Regions from separate parts of the Homo sapiens genome. Here all the other regions are linked to region 3. Evidence: promoter capture Hi-C in 16 types of primary human blood cells and fetal thymus (Javierre and others, 2016). All regions are on one chromosome and are shown on one strand. The core of a region is centred on a gene start or on the middle of the fragment in contact, and the rest is flanking DNA. Distances in the headings are between cores, read along the strand shown.

What was found. The method cuts DNA at HindIII sites, captures the fragments that hold promoters and counts their contacts. A CHiCAGO score of 5 or more calls a contact.
Region 1: a fragment that was not itself captured here is called in contact with the fragment with the promoter of IFIT1B in region 3 in 11 of 17 cell types (megakaryocytes, neutrophils, endothelial precursors and 8 more); the score reaches 10.2 in megakaryocytes.
Region 2: a fragment that was not itself captured here is called in contact with the fragment with the promoter of IFIT1B in region 3 in 2 of 17 cell types (M0 macrophages and megakaryocytes); the score reaches 6.0 in M0 macrophages.

What each region holds. Positions count from the first base shown.
Region 1 is chr10:89,241,746-89,244,829 of GRCh38, reverse strand. All of the region lies in intron 3 of LIPA (lipase A, lysosomal acid type), which reads left to right. Among named protein-coding and RNA genes, the nearest start is that of LIPA, 8.5 kb to the left of the region's middle. The HindIII fragment of the contact is 1,701 bases long and covers 710-2,410 here.
Region 2 is chr10:89,214,686-89,217,882 of GRCh38, reverse strand. LIPA (lipase A, lysosomal acid type) reads left to right here. Exons shown (of 10, transcript NM_000235.4): 9 at 1,874-1,945; 10 at 2,822-3,197. The coding sequence ends at 3,055. Among named protein-coding and RNA genes, the nearest start is that of CH25H, 9.0 kb to the right of the region's middle. The HindIII fragment of the contact is 560 bases long and covers 1,546-2,105 here.
Region 3 is chr10:89,376,604-89,379,587 of GRCh38, reverse strand. IFIT1B (interferon induced protein with tetratricopeptide repeats 1B) reads right to left here and starts at 1,532. Exons shown (of 2, transcript NM_001010987.2): 1 at 1,448-1,532. The coding sequence starts at 1,452. It also overlaps a transcript of LIPA not described here. The HindIII fragment of the contact is 6,433 bases long and covers 1-2,984 here.

The sequences.
Region 1 (3,084 bases), core at 311-2,810, 130 kb after region 3:
ATAATTACTATCACTATGAATATATGAAAGTTCTTGTAGCTTTGGCTTAAAAAGTATATATATACATATATATGTATATCTTTTTTCTCTCTCTCATTTTATAACTCAAGCAAAACTGCAGTTTCCAGTGCAGATAAAGGAATTTCTAGACAGACTGATTGAAATTATTAAGCAGTTATCAGAAGAAGGATCTAATCTTTATTCAATTATCTCTCCAGATGTAGCTTATTTATTTATTTATTTTTTTGAGACGGATTTTCGGTCTTGTTGCCCAGGCTGGAATGCAATGGTGCAATCTTGGCTCACTGCAACCTCCGCCTCCCAGGTTCAAGTAAGATGTAGCTTATTCTCTAACATTTTTTTGTTTCTGGAGACTTTTCTTGGGGAAATTAAGGTTTAGATTAAGGTAGTTAGATAGCTATTTATTCTTCAATTTAAGTGTTATACGGGCAAAAGAGCCACCTTTGCCTCAATTCCTGCCCAAATTGTTATTCAAAGCAAACTTAAACACCCTTTGTGTTAATGTGAGCATTGTATTATTATTTGCTTTGTTTTTTCTTAATTTATCCTAGTTTAACTTTTTTCTTCCATGTGTTCTAGCTGTAATAAGATTTTAATAATGTTTAGGTGGCCACGACAACCATTTTTTTTGAAATTTGATTTCTAACTCTTGAGATTTTTATGCTTTACAGATATATGCCATTAAGCTTCCTTTTTATAAATATGTTATAAAATGAGTGATGAGTTATAGTGAGAGCTTTTAGTTTTTCCTGTGCTCAAAACACTCAAAACATATATTTTATGCTAGAGCGAGCATATGATCTTGGTTTCCTTCCTTTTTTTTCCCCCAAAGAATAACCCCTGTATACTGATTTCAGACACTGTATAAAGAAAAATGCTTTATATTATTTTTCTTAAAATTATAGTTGATTAATTAGTAACGTGAATCACTGTTAAATGATGGTAAGCATCTCAGTAAAACTTGCTGAGAGCTCTCCTCCTATATCCAGCTTCAGACTTCTCTCTCCATACAGTGGTTAAAACACTCAGAGTCACATGCCCTACCTGTGTGTATCACACTGTTGCAGGGGAAGGTGCAGTGCCCTGGAATATGAAGAAAGTGAGCATGAGTCTTGATATGCTCCCAGGTAATAGAAAGGAGACTTATGGGACCTTGGTGCTACACCTGGGTTTGCCCCTGACTTCTTGTGTGCTTTGTTTTTTCTTTTTTTTTTTTAACCTCTGTGGGATATATTATATATACTTTATTTTATTTTTGGCAAGAGGGTTGGGGATTGGGAGAGTGGAGAGTCTAGGTCTTTAGAATGGGGGAATATAGACTGAAAGTATTTACTCTAAGCTAAATCTGTTCATAGCATTTGGTCCTCATGTTCTTTCTCTATTCTGAGAGGCCCTCCCTGTAGGGGATCACTGATGTGTATGTCATACCTGCTATGAGCTAACCTCAGTGGGGAGTCTTCAAGGAAGTCTACAGTGAACAACTCAGTTCTCTAAAGGAATTGTGATTTTCCTAAGAACTGCATAGGCGCTTTCCTGATGGTTTGCATTTCCACATTCTAAAACAGAGCATGGACAGAGGCTCTTTACTGTCCTTCACTCCTATTCAAGAGCAAGGTTGTTGCCACTGGTGTTATTTCCGGTGTTTAAAGGCAAATAGATAAAAAGAATGGAGAAGGCCTTTCACACCCAAAGTGAAACGCGTCCTCTTCTCATGCATCCCGCTTCCCCTCCTGACTTCCTCCTCTATTATTAATAGCACCAGCATCCTCCTAATGACCTAGCCTGGAATCTGCAGAATCATTCTTGACCACGGGTCCTCTCTAGGCCACCCACGTTAAATTGCTTCAGTTCATCTTTTTCTTCTGTTTCCCTGACCACCAGCCTACATTAGGCTCTTGTTACCACTTAACTGGGCGCCTGAAATAAGCTCAGCAGCTGAGAGAGTCTTGAGCCATTTCCATTTTCAAGGCTCCTCGTATACTAACAGAAAGAAAGAATTTCAAGACAGGATTATGGAAATTCAGTTTGCTTATATAGTTTAAGAAATTAATGCTTTTAATACACACAAAAATACTGCTATACATTCATACTATTTACAAGTAATTACAAAATGTATTAAAACATTATTCATTTTTTGGTACCACATTCCTTGTGGAACCTGAGTCTACAGCTGAATGGTGAGCATCTTTCAGTCCTGTTGCCATGGGCCTCTTTGACTGACTGTGTAGCCTCACTTGGAGATCAGGTTTTTTTTATGAACACAGGGCTTGGCCACATGGCTTCTCTGCTCATGTTTGCTTAAAGGCTTTACCTAACTGCTCTTTTCTCTGCCAGGCTTCCTGTTCTCATTCATCCTATGTGGTTTTGCAGGATTAAGTTTCTTAAAGCTTAGCTATAATGATGTGAAATTGCCATTCAGCAATCTTTAGGGGTCTCAGAAATGAAGATACACACTGTTCCTTAAATATTCTGTCCAGCTGGTATTTGTACCTTTCACCTCCATTCTGCACAGTAGTAGCCCTTGGCTACTCGTGCAGTATGTGCATGCTGTTTCCCACCATTAAGCAACCTTCTTAGGAAGTGTTGAGCAATGCTTTGCTCCTGAAGGGAATTGAAATTCAGAAATTACACTTCATAGGGAAGTGGCTCTGTTTTCATCTGCTCAGCCTTATTTCAGAAAGTCATGGGGAGTTAGCACTGGAGGGATCTCAGATTCCTGCCTGGGCTAGGGATTTTTGTTTTTTTTTAAACACACTTCACTGGTGGATTCCAAGGTAGAATTCTTGGTTTTGGCAACCTGTGTTCTAGACTAACATCCTCATTTTGTTGGATAAGACAGCCAGGTTCAAATAGGGAAATGAATTTGTCTCAGGGCAGAGGGTCATGTCCTGACCTGTCTGACTACAGATTCAGTGATCTTTGAACTGGAGAATGTGGCCTTACATAATAAATATTAACCAAGTTGATGCCATGATAGGCACAATATATATTTTATATATATATACACACACCAAGAGTGGCACATTTGTATCTGAAAGTTATGCATCTGATTGCCGAGTGGGT
Region 2 (3,197 bases), core at 576-3,075, 160 kb after region 3:
AAGTTTTGGCCACAAGGTGGCGCCCGGTAAAAAGAAATGCCCAGACATTCTCTTCAAAACTGCTTTTGGTTTATGTGAAGTCTGTTCTTATCAACTGCATACAATTCTACTGTTTGATGTAATAAAACACAGAGCGAGATGATATACTACAAGGGATTGTTACTTATTAAAATTGGGCTTTAGCTTATTTCCAGGTTTTTGTTACTGGAAATCATCTTAATACTTTTCTTTTGAAATATCCTTTCAAGTGGATAGCTTGAAGTCCTAAGTGACTTAGCACAAAGTCAAATTTAGAACTTCAGTCTGAGCTATAGGCAAGTTTCACCTTTGTATTCTGTGCTCACGCTGGTGCTTCATATGAATGCTGAAGGACATGTGACAAAGTGATGAACTGCTGTCTGTGTTCAGTGGCAGAATAGTTTGCATCAATATATTTTCACTGACAAAGATGGGGAACAGATGTACCAACAGGTGCTGTGAATCCAAATTTTGTTTTGCTTGTTAAATATGCCACAGGTATTTAATATCAGTCATTTGCAACGGCAAAAACAGATGCCAAATATTTCTCCTGTAACAATCCCCTATAGTATATCATCTCACTCTGTCTTTTATTACATCAAACAGTAGAATTGTATGCAGTTGATTAGAACAGACTTCACATAAATCAAAAGCAGTTTTGACAAAGAATGTCTGAGCATTTCTTTTTACCAGGCGCCACCTTGTGGCCAAAACTTACCATTTCAAATTCATTTGGCTTGCCAATTTTGTGTTTAATTTTTGACATACATTTAATTTGAGAGTGTAGAGGAAATATGGATTTGCACTATTTTGAATTTTAAAAATAAGTGACATTTTGCTAATATTTTATATTATACTATTTTAAATATGAATAAATGTAAATTTCAATACAATTTCAATTTCATGGCTCTAGTATCCCTAACTAGTTAGAATTGTGCTGGCATGCAGTACTACTTGGTGATTATACTGATACCAGTACTCAAGAAAAAGTGTTTAATCAATACCATCATTAAAATTTGACTAATATAACTAGACAAGTAGAATGGGTAAATAGAAAATATACAGTCATCCCTCAAGTATCTTTGGGGACTGGCTGCAGACATCATCCCCAAACCAAAATTCACAGATACTCAAGTCCCTTATATAAAATGATGTAGTATTTGCATATAGCCTATGCATATCCTTTCATATGCTTTAAATCATCTCTAGATTACTTATGATGCTTAATACAATGTAAACGCTATGTAAGTAGGTGTTACACTGTTTTAAAATTTGTATTTTTTATTGTTTTATTATCTTTTATTGTTTTTTTCCAAATATTTTCCATCTGCAAAATATCACTTGGCTGAATCCACAGATACAAAACTGGATATGGAGGGCCAATTGTATATTATAATTATTTTATCTATATATATCCATCTCTCTCTCTCTCTCTCTATTATATATATATATATGTATATATATATGTAGCTACCTATCTGTCTACCTTTATTTCCCAAGTAAAATGACTAACTCTTTGAAAAAGCTTAGGATGCAAATTTCAGCAGAAAATGTCAGCATAAAGTTCCGCTAGCAGGAGCAACTGTTGATCTAGTATAATTGACAGCATATGTGCATAGCTGCTTTCTTGTGTCAGGTGGTAGCTGCTTAACAATCATACAATGAGAAATTGAGTCATTCAGTAAAGCAGGACAAAACCATGCCATCTCATTTAAAATAATGCCTTGGAAATGAAGAGTAAATCTGGATATTGGTATAAAGTTGATTTCCGAGGTTGTGGCTAGCTCCAGCAACCTATGATGTTATCTCTAACTTTGGTGTCAGATAACTCTTTTCCAAATTATCTTCTTTTTAGGCTGTTAAATTCCAAAAGTTTCAAGCCTTTGACTGGGGAAGCAGTGCCAAGAATTATTTTCATTACAACCAGGTAAAGTTTTTAGTCTTTTCATTAAAGGGGGCCCTGAAAACTCATCAAGAAAGCCAGCCTGGCCTATCAGGATTCTGGCCAGGCTCAGGTGCTGTGGGAAATGTTTGCAGGAGTTGACTAGTGTTTGTTTTCCATCAGTCCATTCAGAACAATCCAAGCTTTGTAGCTGGTGTTGTGGACTGGGCCTCCTCTCTTTGTCCTTTCCCCAGCTCTAAATAAGAATCATCACTGTTATGCATTACTCAGAGTAATCACGAACATAGCCTGTAGAGTCAGACAGTCCTATGTCTGTTATCTGGTAGCTATGGGGCCTTGGCCAGATTACATTGCTTAAGCCTCTTCCCTGCACTAATAAAATTAGCATTTTTGAGCATGCTAAATGCACTGAAGTGTGAGGCACTTTGCTCTGTTTTTTAAATTTAATTCCCAGAGCATCTCTGTGATGTAAACGTGATTATCTCTGACTTAAACATGAGGACAGTGAGGCTTAGAGAATTTCTGTGACTTGTCTTACACCCAAAGGGAAGAAGTAGGAGGGCATGACCCCAAACTCTTTCCAGCCACTATTGCCTTGAGTGTACTACCTATGGAGTACAACACCTTCCTTGCCGGGGATTAAACATTCATTTTGGTGCCCAGCCTACGGCAGCAGCTCCACAGCTAGTGGCGATTATAATTAGCATTCTCTCATTTGGGGTTAGATTTCTTTTTTTGTGCCGGTAATGGCAACTTGAAAAGATACTCAAAGAGATTTTAAAAATTTAGTCTGTTAGTCAAACTTACTAGACAATGTTTAATGGAGATTGCGCTTATTGTGATTTTGAAAATTAAAACAACAACAACAACGAGGCTTTCTCTGGTTCCTTTTCATTGTAGAGTTATCCTCCCACATACAATGTGAAGGACATGCTTGTGCCGACTGCAGTCTGGAGCGGGGGTCACGACTGGCTTGCAGATGTCTACGACGTCAATATCTTACTGACTCAGATCACCAACTTGGTGTTCCATGAGAGCATTCCGGAATGGGAGCATCTTGACTTCATTTGGGGCCTGGATGCCCCTTGGAGGCTTTATAATAAAATTATTAATCTAATGAGGAAATATCAGTGAAAGCTGGACTTGAGCTGTGTACCACCAAGTCAATGATTATGTCATGTGAAAATGTGTTTGCTTCATTTCTGTAAAACACTTGTTTTTCTTTCCCAGGTCTTTTGTTTTTTTATATCCAAGAAAATGATAACTTTGAAGATGC
Region 3 (2,984 bases), core at 283-2,782:
TCTTCCTCTCCCACTGACTGCAACATCAGATGGGAGAACTCTAGCAGGTCAGAATACTTTTGAGTGAAAGCATTTTCTGCAGGTCACCAGTTCTAACTACACCAGGAAAAAAAGAAATATATATTTTGTGGAACAAACATATCACAATGCCTACAAAATTTCTTATTTTCTAACATCTAGTATAATGGTTTTTCAAATTTTAGCAGGCAACATGATCACCTGGAAAACTTATAACACACAGATTGATGGGCCCCACCCTAGAGTTTCTGAGTCAGCAGGTTTAGGGTAGGGCCTGAGAATTTGCATTTCTGCTACCTTCCCAAGTGATGCTGATGTTGCTAGTCAGGGGACCACACTTTGAGAACAGTTAATTCAGTGAAAAGCAAATTTCATAGTAATCACAATTTCATAGTTTCACAGTAATCACAAAATTTGACTTGGTATCAAAAACAAACAAACAACAGAAAAACAGCCATCTCTGAAAGTAGCTTCTTTTTCCCACGTGAATTTAACCAATTTATCAAATAAAAATAGCTGCTTCTTCTCACCTGGATGCCTAAAAGAGTATTTTGTATATTAAAAGGATCTCAATGCTCTTGCCCTGACTGGTCCCCGGGCCAGTCTCCTCTCTAGGCTCAGGCCTCTGTTCCCTGGTGAACAGTCTTTAAGTGTTGCCTGGGTAATTGTCCCTCTATTAGAAAGTGCTACAGAAATGACATCTTTGGAAATAAGATTGCTTTCTCGTTTATTTCCTTAAGAGCATTGCTGCTTTTATTAAGCCAGCTACCCTTACTAAGCGAGCTCTGTAACAGGAGTTAGGAAACTTGCCTCTACATATATTCTCATCTTGCCCCTCTGAATCTACTTTCCTACATTCTTCACCATGCTCTGTGCTTGGAAGCTGACTCTATGGACTTTATTAACTCCAAAACTCTTTTATTTTTTACTTTCTACTGGGGTTGGCCCACTGGGGAGCACCAGCCAGATATTAAATTGCAGGAGGAGGTGAAGGTCATGGAATTAATTCCTAAGCTCCCACTGTGCTCTGCTTGAGGTTGTCAGTGATTTTTTCACCAAAGGCCTCTTGAGAAGCCCCTCCCCTACAGCTATAGCTTAGAGTCTCCTTGGGTCTGGTTCTCTCCTCTTGCTCCTGTAGGCCCAGGGTTATCATGTTACCACTGTTGTAAACCAACACGCCTCTTCCCGCTGCCCTGCAACCAACAAGCACCATTTCCTGTTGATTTCCCTAAACTTTGCCCATATCGTCTTAAATAGCCCCCTTATTAAACTCTTCTTGGTTATCATGTTGAGGGTGCCTATCAGGGTCAGAACCACCAGTGGGACAGCTCCCTTAGGAGAAGGCCTGTCAAAAAATTGGCCCTTAAGGAAAGTTTTAGAATTTCAAAGTGTGCAGAAATAAGGTCAGTGAAGCAGAGAAAGACTTTACCTCATGGTGCTATGAAGATAGCAGGTGATCTGTAGTGCTTTGGTTCAGGCTTGGAGGCTCCTTCAAGGTTCATCCACAGAGTTCTAGGGCTTCTCAGATAAGCATGGTGCTTATATATGGGAGGTATATCCAGGCAGTTTTTTACACCCTTGATGCCTAGTGAATTGGCAGGGTGAAAATGATACAGAGGAATAGGGCTGTCTCTGCTTTGATTACAAATACATGCTGAGTTTTGGCAGCTAAGAGGATGGGTGTGTGAGAAGCAGTTTTGATACGCAAATTCCCTTGCTGGAGTCAATGTGGTGTAGGAGATAGAGGGTAACTGGACTTTATGATGACATTCAGTGTTGTGGAAAAACCAGTGGCAGACAGGAACGTATATTTTTGTGAATCATGTCAGACTCTGTTGTCAAACTTGTTACTATCACATGTATCCCGCCAGGTGGTTCCAGGGACGTCTACAATGGAAGCTCCTTAGACCAGGGTCAGTGGTTTGTGCCTAAAAGAATACTGTAGAAAGTCATTGTCAATTTGTGGAAGAATGAGGTTGCAGATGGTTAGGTCTTCTTCTGTGGGGCTGTGTTAGGCAAAACAACTCCTCAATTTTGAGATATTGGTCTATAAGAAGGGTCCCATACTGGTTACATCCTCCAGCAGCATTTGCATTACTGCCAACCCTGGCTATAGTGGAGCCTATTCAAGCATATTGACTGTTTTGATGATCTTTACTGTTCACCATTAGTGGTTCAAACAACAATGTTTGAGCTGGTCAGTAGAGAAACATATGCAATGTAGTCAGAGAATGTGATGGGGTCATGGGGGTTAAAAATCTAAATCCAAATTCACATAGTTCTTCTGAGTTGTCCTTATGTTTCTTCTGTTTCTACTATTTTGAAGATTATCTGTTACAAAGCAACAACCATCAGAGAGTCAATCAAACAATGTTCACATGTTTAATGAAAAATTTATATGATCCCAAGGCTGATGTAATTGCCCACACAATTAGCAGAGAAAAAGGAAAATTTGGAAAGCTGCTATTCTGAATTCCTCTTGTGAATTGTTACAATGTCATCCTGTACGTTTCTGGATCTTGGTTTTGTAGGGGTAGTGCACCAAGATAAGCAAAAGGGCAAAGACTGAGAGCGATTTCCCTCTGAGTGAGCATTTCAAGGTAGGGTTATTAACTTCATTACAGTCTTCTCATAATTACCAAATGAAACTGTAGCCTCGCTGTGCTATTTCTTCTTTGTCCTGGGCCTGTAACTAGACTATATTTCCCAGGCTCCCATGTGGTAAGGTGTGGTCATGGGCATGGGATGGGAGGCTGTCAGGAAGCAGAAATGATTCTATAATTGGGTATCTTAAATTGTGTCTGGAAAAAGAGAAGACTAGACCAAGGTGACAGGTGTAATTTGAAAGGAAGCAGCAGTCATTCATATTGGCCAGTTTAAGGGGCTGCTTGATTATTTTCGAATCCAGTTGGAAAATATTCGTATTTTTGTCTGCACTCAGACCTGATTACAGAGTGGCCTTGTAT